2 separate regions of the Homo sapiens genome follow, and region 1 is linked to region 2. Evidence: promoter capture Hi-C in 16 types of primary human blood cells and fetal thymus (Javierre and others, 2016). All regions are on one chromosome and are shown on one strand. The core of a region is centred on a gene start or on the middle of the fragment in contact, and the rest is flanking DNA. Distances in the headings are between cores, read along the strand shown.

The links. The method cuts DNA at HindIII sites, captures the fragments that hold promoters and counts their contacts. A CHiCAGO score of 5 or more calls a contact.
Region 1: a contact is called between a fragment that was not itself captured here and the fragment with the promoter of NT5DC1 in region 2, in 4 of 17 cell types (total CD4 T cells, total CD8 T cells, non-activated CD4 T cells and 1 more). The highest score is 9.3, in total CD4 T cells.

Annotation. Positions count from the first base shown.
Region 1 is chr6:113,965,731-113,970,759 of GRCh38, forward strand. All of the region lies in intron 1 of HDAC2 (histone deacetylase 2), which reads right to left. HDAC2-AS2 (HDAC2 and HS3ST5 antisense RNA 2) reads left to right here and starts at 3,971. Exons shown (of 10, transcript NR_125845.1): 1 at 3,971-4,548. RefSeq lists a silencer at 4,559-4,878 and an enhancer at 4,935-5,029. The HindIII fragment of the contact is 2,076 bases long and covers 952-3,027 here.
Region 2 is chr6:116,099,175-116,104,809 of GRCh38, forward strand. It overlaps NT5DC1 (5'-nucleotidase domain containing 1), which reads left to right and starts at 1,679. Exons shown (of 12, transcript NM_152729.3): 1 at 1,679-1,849. The coding sequence starts at 1,757. It also overlaps a transcript of FRK not described here. RefSeq lists enhancers at 1,339-1,861, 1,862-2,382, 3,852-3,921 and a silencer at 1,495-1,754. The HindIII fragment of the contact is 3,203 bases long and covers 296-3,498 here.

The sequences.
Region 1 (5,029 bases), core at 740-3,239, 2.1 Mb before region 2:
GTCTATTTGGCACACAGTAGGAACTTTAAGCCTATTTGATATGTCTGAACCCAAAGCTGGCTTAATGAACAAGTAACAATAAGCAGACTGCTACTGAAATACAGAGGAATAAGGCTTAATAACCAGTACAAAAAAATCCTTAGACTTGATTTGAATTCTTCCAAGTTTGAATTTATTAACATTCCCTAAGAGATGCCTTCTCCAATCCCAAGTGTTTTCCTTTAAGGACTTGTCAACAGAAGCATTTAAAGTTTTTGTTAAGGAGTTTTGTTTGTTTGGTAGCAGAGGAAACACTTTGAAAAGGAAAAAAGAAAAATAAAGATTCCGGATGTTGAACTCTCCTTGAACATTAAAACTACAGTCAGTGTGGAAAAGGAAAAGTGGTAGACTGCACCAAACAAATGTGAATCTGTTTTCATCTAAACAATACCAAAAATGCCAAAATGCCACCCATCCTACCTAAATGTAGTTCAGAGTAGTTTCAAGAATTAGAGGGAACGTTATATGAAAGCGTTCTATCTATAAGAATAAGGAATTGGCCAGGCACAGTGGCTCACGCCTGTAATCCCAGCACTTAGGGAGGCTGAGGTGGGTGGATCACCCCAGGTCAGGAGTTCGAGACCAGCCTGGCCAACATGGTAAAACCCCCATCTCTACTAAAAAATACAAAAATTAGCCAGGGGTGGTGGCACGTGCCTGTAATCTCAACTACTTGGGAGGCTGAGGCAAGAGAATCACTTGAACCCGGGAGGGTAGTGGAGGTTGCAGTGAGCTGGGATCACGCCACTGCACTCCAGCCTGGGCAATAAGAGCAAAATTCCATCTCAAAAAAAAAAAAAAAGTATAAGGAATTAATAATTTATTCATCACTAATTAAAAAAAAAAGCTACGTTTTTAAATGTAGTTGGCGAAGATACAAACACAAGCAAAACAGACAGACTGTCCTAATGAAGCTTATGTTATAGTGAGGAGAGAGACAAAAGTTATATGGTACAACCAAAAGGAAGAAAAATAAGGCAATAACAGGGACTTAGGTAATAGGAGAAAGCATCTCTGATGAGGTAAAATTTGAAAGAAAAGAGAGGCAAAAGATTTCTGGGGAAAGAGAAGTATAGGAAAATTTCAGTCTTATTTAGTCATGTTTTATTGTGCAATTAGTATTACTGGTATTTATGAACTGCTGCTATAATTAATTTAGCACTTATTTGCCTCCAAAGAAATTATTACCTATTTCACGGATAATAAAGATTTATACCACAGCTAAGAACCCATGTAGTTGTATTAAAGGTTATTCAGCAAAAGACTTTGGTACTACTCATAAATACAAGTCTAAGAAAATCTGACAATCGTTGGCTGCCAAGTAGAATTTCTATAATTTGCTGAAGAAGGAGTACGTTGGGAGGTATCATCTTGGTAACTTTTTTTTTTGAGACGGAGTTTCGCTCTTGTTGCCCATGGCACTATCTTGGCTCACTGCAACCTGCACCTCCTGGGTTCAAGCCATTCTCCTGCCTCAGCCTCCCGAGTAACTGGGACTACTGGTGCCTGCCACCACGCCTGGCTAATTTTTGTATTTTTAGTAGAGACGGGGTTTCGCCATGTTGGCCAGGCTCTTCTCAAACTCCCGACCTCAGGTGATTTGCCTGCCTCAGTCTCCCAAAGTGCTGAGATTATAGGCATGAGCCACCACACCTGGCCTAATCTTGATAACTTTTGTATTTATATAGTTTTATCTGTATACAGTCTTTGAGTGTTTTTTTCTGGACCACTTGTCTCCAAAACTGATTATGCATCCCTCTCAGAGGAGGAAAAAATAGAGCACAGAGAAATTTGTGTATAGTTACATAAATTAGGTATATAAACCCTATTATACTGTATACACCATAAAAACAAGCACTAAATATGTTTGGCCTCAAGATTAATTCAAAACAAAGCATAAACATGTCTAGATACAGTATTAAAAATGTGAGTGGTATAACTAGAGCCTAACACAGCTTAGCTGCTAATTATATTTAAGTAGAGAAAAATCACATCGTTTTAAGGCCCAGAAGGGATCTTAGTGACTATCTAATTAGCTGTATCATTTTACAGATTCTTGATGATCTTCTAGTGTATAAAGAAGGAACATGATTCAGAAGTATGTTTTTGGGAATTTGGAGGCATGGATCAATAGCTACAGTCAGAGAAGTAATAACTTCTCTTACTTTTCTTCAAAGGTTTAAGGATACCTAATCCATCAATGTCTGAAGGTTCCCTTGGGACCAACGTTTCAGTGACCTAAAGGGTTACCTGAAGATTACATAACGTGCAGAGAACAATATGTATATATTTAAAAGTTCTTTCATTAAGATGCAAACAGCCTCAGTGGCAGACATTCTGTGTGGCCAAGAGGCTCCGTGTGCCTAACAGCCCCAGGAAGCCTAAAGGTAGGATTCCTATGGTTATAGAATTTGCTACTTCCGTCCTTTTCTTTTTCACTCACTTTCTTCCTTCTACTTCCTTTACCAAGAAGTTAAAACCATCTAACCTAGGCTAGCAGATAATTCAGACCCTATTACTACAGATATAACCCATTCCCAATCCAATCCATGTTATATACCTTAAAGTCACGATTCTTTGATACAGAAGCTCCTTTCCTTGCATTCTCTTCTCACAATAAAAAAAGAATTAGTATTGCTACTTTTGTAAGCTGACAAAACAATGTTCTCTGGTAATAAAAATATAAGTTTTTGGATGAGGTCAGCACACTATCACATATTAATAATTAGCATAATATAAACATTAATAATCTCTGCAAAATATTTTAATTCCCTCCCACAAAAATTAAAAGAGTATGTGAAACATAAGCAACTAGGAACTCCACTTTAACAAACGAGTCACAGACAAAAGACAAAATAACCCACCAGAGATTTCCAAACTATCAGCTATTCACTTGTTGCTGGCCATCACGTAAGCAGGTGAATGGGCTACAATAAAGTATCATATTAAGTCACAATCACAAGACAAATATTTCCACCCTACTTATCAAGCTTGCATCCTTTCCCGGGTACCCGTGCCTGCTCCCATTCCCACAACGAAGGTTATCATAAATGGGCCCAGGACAAGAGCGCTGTTCAGAAACTGCTACTCAAGTGTACCCTCCTGGTTCTAGGGTTCCATTGTGGTGACAACAAATTACAAGCAGCTTACTTCCTCAGAGCCCATCACTACCAACACCAACTGACAGCTTCGAGAAGGACCTCAGTACCACTTTCCCTAACCAAAATTTTCCTCTTTACTCCAAGCCCTGACAAGGATAAATCTCTAAACTTTAGAAACAATGTAATTTTACAAATTAACTTATACGCAGGGTTACTTCCTTTCCAATTTGATCAGGGAATGCAGGGCAAGAATAACCCAAAATATGCAATGTAAATCATGTTGAAATTAAAATGTATTTCCATCTCCACCCCTCCACGATGGCATAATTTCAAATCAACTTATATAATGCATATCTAGTCCTCTGAAAAATCATTTTTAAAAGTAGGGCTGTTATTATTCTGTCCTAGCTATCGCAGATCAATTTAGATTTGTTCTGTAAGATTTCAGATTTTCCCCAAATGACACAGGTGGTTATTTTATATGTATCAGTCATTAAAAGATTAATCCTTTTTAACTAAAAAGAGACAGTACGGTCATTTACAAGTTAAAGTAGATTTATTCTGAGCTGGTGCTCTGGGGTCTTACTTCTCTAAAATTTTGTGATTTACAATACACCACATGTAGGAAACAGCTTCCAAAATTTGTATTGCTTCCTACAAATCAGACAGGACTTTCAGGAGAAGGAGCCTAGGATAGATTCTCTGTTAAATTTTGGAATCCCTTCTCTCAAGAGTAACCTACTATAAACTATTTACCAAGCCTTTGTGAAATCTGTATAACAGGTTACTACTCCATTGAGCAAGAAAACACAGGAAACAGGATTCGAAGATTTAATGTTACTGCTCATACTCCAAATTATAGAATGCTTAAGATAATTAAATTATCTGACTTTTATAATTCACTACACGGTGACCTCAAATTTACCTCATTAGAATATTTAGTACTTCTGCACTTCTCCCACTTCTCAAAGTTTTCCCATACCAGGATTCCCCACCACCTAGGAACAGCCTTTGCAAGATACCAATGCTCTCTAAATCCCCAAAGCAGGGTCTATTTCCTGATCGAACAAAGAGCAACAAAGAAGTGGGTGGTAACCACCTCTCTGAGGCAAGCCAGGACCCATGGAGTCTGATCTACAACACAAGCAGTAGCAGTTCCACATCTCCCTACCACCTCTTATTTCCTACGAAGTCTTTCTGCCTGAAACTGGAAAACCCGAACTATTATTGAGGAAGTGAAGCCCTTCCATTTGAATCCTGAGAAAGACGCGCTCAAAGAACCCAGCGAACAAAGGAGAGGGTTGGAGCCCACGCAAAACATGGGTGTGATAAAGCCACACGCGACCTGAGCCCCCACCCTCAGTAACTACTCTCCAGCGCCCACCGGGAGGAGGGGTCCGGGGAAAGGGTAAGCCGAGGAAGGAGAAGACGCTCCGGCCAGACCGAACGCAGGGTAGGGGAGGCGAGCAGGCGAGGAGGAGGGAAGGGGACGGGAGGGGCGGAGCTCTCGCGGCCGCGGGGCTTTGTGTAGAGTCAAGGCCGGGATAGAAATTTTGCCTCGCGGGGGACGGGTCGAGGGGGTAGGAGGCCGACGCGGGGCACCCCAAACCTGCGTTGCCACGAATGGTGGGCGGGAGAAGGGAGAGAATGGGCCGCCCCCTTCGCCGCCGCCACCACCAAGGCGGGGTAGGCCGGCGCCGTCCCCAGCGGCGGCCACCTTCGAGGCTGCGGACTGCACGGCCGAAGGGGGAGAGGCAGGAGACAAGACGGGCGGGCCCCCTGATTCCCGCCCGCAGGAACCGCGGGGGCTGCGCCAGGAAGAGGGTCTCGTTCTAACTGTGCCGGGCCGGGAACGGGTTAAGATGCGGCCAAATGTCGGTCCCTCCTCC
Region 2 (5,635 bases), core at 429-2,928:
CAATTTCCTGTTCACAATTCAGCACACTCAAGAGGTTTTGTAAGGAGAAGTTTTTGCTAAGTCAACAAAAAACAATCCTTTTATACTCTTCCCTCTTACAATGAATGTACTAGTACATTTGTATTACTAAGGGAAGTCCCTAAAGTACCTAAAGCACCTACTCCCACATGAAACAAGATATTCCCCAAGGAAACATGTGCCCTTCAATGTGGCATGCACCTGGAAGTTTGACTTTGGTAGCATTCTATTGCAAGGTGCAGAGGAGAATGCCAAGGTCAATGCTCCAGGGCCAACAAGCTTTTTCCAGCCTCTCCAACAATCCAGCCTTTTCTCTTTTGGTTCACAGACATTGAAAACATGATTGTTGGACTCATCAGTGAACAGCTTAATCTTCTTGAAGATTCTTTACTTTTCCTATTCCAGAGAGATTTGTTTGGGGCTTTTAAGTGTTATAATGGAACAAGTTATCAATTTTATTCAAATGGGTCTACTAGGTATAAGTGTCCTCCTACTCAATTGTACTATCTATTGCACTAAATTAATCCTCTGATTGGTCTATTAGCCTCAGAAGGATTAGTATTTGAAAGGGTTAAATGCAGTTCTCAATCAATTATATTTTCATTATGTCACGACTATTGATTTGTCCCATTAGACACATTGTTCCTTTAAATTGAGAACTGAAGCAGTGTAAACATAATAGATTTGTATTTTCTTTTTAAAATGAGGTACTATGTAATAAAGATCTCAAAGTGCTAGTCCTTCACATCCGGAAATCAGGAAGAGAATTAAATGCCCTAAGGCATACATTGTATGTAATGGATTAACTTTCTCTGCATCTAAAATGGTAGTAGTTATACAGTTCTTGAGAGAATTAAGCAAATGTCACTCAAAACATTTTGTGCTCTATAAACCTTAAACCCGGTTTGCAAAAGTTTTTTGTAGTATGCTCTATATATTTCTATGAAGTTTCTGATGCCCTTTCATAAAAAATTCATTACAATAACAAAATAGGATTATCAAGTAATAACCAATATTGGTTTCCATAACAAGTATCATCTTGCAAAATGGTTCTTCACGATGTCTGATACATTTATTTTCTAACGCACTCCAGGGTATGAAATAGTGAAAGGTCTGTCTTCCACTTAACCACTTAGGAAACCAAGGAATATAAAGTTTTTGGTTTAAACCACTATCAAAGATCACGTGGGTGAAAAGACCTTCCAAATTGTAGGCTAACTGGGTCAGAGGGATATTAGCGGATGAATTTTTTCTATGATCTTACTATTCCTCACACAGGGGTAAAAGGTCAGGTCTAACCTCATGATCTCCTGGTTTCCGAGGCGCCCTGAGGCGATGGAGTGTCCCGGTTAATTTTGTGGTAGCCCTCGGGAAAGGCTACGTGCCTACAGGTCTCAGCTGTGCAGCAGCGGCACCGCTCCTGGACCCCTACTGCCTTCTGGGCTCCTAGGCTTGCGGAACAGATCAGGAGTCGCCGGCATTGGGGTACCAGGAGGACGCGAGCTGACTACCTGACTCCGGGCGGCGCAGGACGCCCGCCGCGCGAGGGGCGGGGGCTAAGCGTATCGAGGGGCGGTGCTCGAGGGCGCGGGAGGCGGGAGAGGCTGCCGCGCCGTGTGCCCTGGCAGCCGCAGCCCCGCCCCGCCGCGTCCGGCCCGGTCCTGTCCCGCAGCGTCCCGCCAGCCAGCTCCTTGCACCCTTCGCGGCCGAGGCGCTCCCTGGTGCTCCCCGCGCAGCCATGGCTCAGCACTTCTCCCTGGCCGCCTGCGACGTGGTCGGATTCGACCTGGACCACACTCTGTGTCGCTACAACCTGCCCGAGAGCGCCCCGGTGAGTGGCGCGGGCTCCGGGGCGCACTGCGCGCAACCTCCATGGCGGCTGGGGCTTGAGTTTCCTCCAGGTTTGGGCAACGGCGGACGCTGCCCGGGGCCTGCGGCGGCCGAGTCTTGCCGCAGAGCGCGGCCTCCAGCGGCGAGAAGGGGCGGAAGTGTGCAGCCTCCGCTCCGCGCCGGTGCCGTGGGGACCGGCACATTTACCTCAGCCATTAGCTAATGTTGAGAGGGATAGGGAAGAACGAAGGAGGGGCAAACTGCGCAAGACCGGGCTGGGGAATCGGTGATTTCTAGGGCCGAGGAGGGGCGGGGTCAGGGGGACTAGGGCTGTCCTTGAAGATCTCACGTCGTGGAACTTTCTCTGCATGTCTTTCTGGACACCAGCTGATTGTGGACACAGCCACTTGATTTGGTACTTGCATTTTTTTTGGCTGCATTTTTCTGTTTGCACGATCAACCACCCATCAGTGTTTAAACTGCAATCTGGGAGAGATGCGTAGTATATAGTGTAGTGTATTGAAAGGAACACTAGTTGAAAAGTCATTAAGATCTTAGCCCTAGTTTTACCTTCTATCAAGAGAAGAAAATACATATTTATTGCGCATCGACTACGTGCTCCGTGCACTTTGAATACATTCCAGTCCTACCAACAGTCTGCGAAGTTTGGGTCCTCACTGTGCCCTGAGGGAGGGGGACATGGAGTATGCATGCTTCCAGACCTGTACACTCAAATTAATTGCCCTCCCTCCACTATTCCTTTGGTTTCCCAATTCCCAAGGAAACTAATTTTGAAAAGTTACCAGATTTTTTTAGTCCAAGATCTAAGCATCCAGACAGAAAAAGAGCTGGTTATGAGTACAGTGGTGAAAGCGAGGACTCCTCAGCCAGACTGCCTAGCTTAGGACACCAGCTCCACTGTTACTAGCTCTGTGACTTCGAGGAAGTTACTTAACCTGTGCTGCTTCTCAGTTTCCCCATCTGTAAAATGGAGCTAATAATTGGATTTACCTCACAAGATTGTTGCAAGGATTAAATGAGTAAGAGATGTATAATGCTTAGAATAGTACCTTGGCAAAGACAAGTGTTTGCTTTTATGGTTACCACCCAAACTATTTGGAAACCTCACAGTTTATGGGTAGAACTCTAGATCACTGGTGCAGACATCAGCCAGGGTTGTGCCCCATTATGGGCACCCGCCAGTTCCTGCACCCACCAGTTCAGGTACACGTTAAAGGTCAAAAAAGAGTGGCTGCCCGAATTTCTCGTGTGTTTTCTATGCCCAGATGCTAAATTTTTTTTTAAATGTCCTTTTTCTGCTGTTACACTTTCCTGCTTTCTTACCTTACAGGTCTGGTTTCCTTAGTCACATTGAGAATTAAGAAGGCTTTTTTACTGCTTGATTCTTTGGCCACTGCTTCCCCTAGGTCTTTGATACATGTTTTCCTTCCCTCTGTGTCTTTCGAATCCTTCCTGGTTCACAGTTTTGTGTGTCTCCTCTTTAGTTACCTTCATTTGGAGGTAATATTGTTAAACCACTGTCATGTTAGAGCTAGTGTTGTCCATAGGTGATCATAAAATTTCAGAATATAAGATTCTCAAAGACAAGAGGTTTTTTTACTGCAAACCTGGAGAATAAGTGATGTTTAAAGCTTGAAAACAGTAACCTATTGAGTTTTGGATCATGTTTGGTGTGGAAATCTTTTTTATTTTAAGTCCCACAGTGTGCTGAGCACCATGCTAGAGCTGAGGATACAGAGATCAACACGCAGGCCTCCAGGCAGCCTTACACAGTAGGCAAAAATGCTGAAGAGTTAGTCTTGGTCCCTTGTGGTGGGTAGTATGACCTGGGTCTTGCTTCACGCTGCCAACAGTGCCTGGAGGGCCTCTTTGCTCTGCACAGAAGCTCTTCATCCCATCAGGCCTCATCTTAAACATCGTTCCCCTTAGGAAGTCTTTTTGGCCCTTAAAGTTTGCCCTTCCATTCTAAGCCCACCTTCAGTTTTCCACAAAACCCTTCATTCCTCATAGCACATGCTGCATGATATTAACACTTCCTGTTTACTTGTTGGACTTCCCCTAGAGCCCAGCGTGATGACTCCATCAGTATCTGTGACAGTTTCTTGTGTGTTCTGTGTGCCGAGCTTAGTGCTGGGCACATACTGGACTCAATAAATAGACTGAATAGATAATAGGTATTTTAATAACAGAATATGATACAGCCATGATTCTAATAAGCATGCTGCTTATATGAATGGATTTAATCCTTACAACGTCCCTGTGAGGTAGATATTATCACCACTGTTTAATCACTTAACAGTGATTTAGTCACTGTTAAGAGAGCATCAAGCAACGGGGCACAGAAGGAAAGTGTATCCAGGGCAACTAAGCGAGGTAGTCCGGCTGTGGATTTCTGCTTCTTCCCACCTTGCTGTCTGTATGGTGCCCGAAAACACAGAGGAAAGGCCGGGAGCTGGCAGGTGAGGAGGTGGAGAGGAGTGCTTCACCCAGAGGAGTTAGAGTAAAGGTCAGAACCTCGAGGTGAGCAACAGCACCGGGAACTGCTGGGTGCAAGCAAAAGGTGGCAAGTTGCAGGAGAAGATGGTGGAGAAGTCAGTGGGGGCTGCATCATGGAGAGCTGTGAGTGCGTCTCCTTTCAGTTTTGTAGGCATTTAACAACTGCACAGAGTTGTGCAAACACAGAACTGAGTGTGTCCCCCTCACATGAGGCCTCAGGAAAGGCATTCTAGAAGAGAGGATGACACATGGTTTCTCCTCTCTAAGGTTGCAGACTCAGAAGTCTGATACCAGTCAGTTAACGTAGATGTGTGAGTGGGAGAGTGGGGTCCCAAATATTGCATGCTTATACTAAAAAAAAATTATTTGTTTTTTATTTGAAAGTCACATTTACCTAGGCATTTTTAAATTTTATCTGGCAACCTTAAGTGGGAACCAAACATAATTTGTAGGCTGCATATGGACCACAGGGTACCAATTGGCAACTGCAGTAGAACGTGTATTATTATTACTCCTGAGAGACTGTGAGGTGGTGATAGCTAAGGCTGGGGGAGGAATGTCATGGAGAGCCCTGTGCCATGAAGGCTTCTAGAGAGACTCAGCGTACTCTAAGGACAAACTGCAAGAAGCCTTCTGCCTAGACCAGGGGTTTCAGAGTACAGATGCCCCTGCTTTTCTTCACACTGCTTTTCTCTGCTTCTTTTCCTTGTCCATTGGCCCCCTTCTCTCCTGTTACAGAAAAATCTCCTCCACAAGGTAAGGAACACAGCTGTTGCTGTCCCTGTTGGCGTCTCTGATGGAAAGGGCTCCTTTCTTCCAGGAGAATTCAAGTGTTTTAGAATTACATGCCCATATCTTAGACTAATCACTTGAATAACTGGAGAAACTCAAAAGTGCCTCAATGAGAGGCAAATCTAAGGTGTACAATAGCTGGCTCTTAGGGGCTTGTGAAAGCCAATTGTTAACTATTCAGGAATTGTGCAAGCAGGTAAACTGCTGTTGGTGACTTGAAACAGGCCATGGTGGGAATATTTACACCGTGGAGATGGGCAAGCGCTACCTGTCAGGGCAGTGTTTTTGTTTTCTGTTTTTTTGTTTTGTTTTGTTTTGTTTTTAGCAGCATACAACATAATAATAGCAAATACTTAAATTGGATTTGCTGGTGTGCCAGGCTCTGCTCTAAGCATTTTACATCTGTTAGCCCTGCAGCACTGGTTTCTTATAAGCAGGATCGTGATGTGGACTTTTTATTGTCCATAGTACTTTGTAC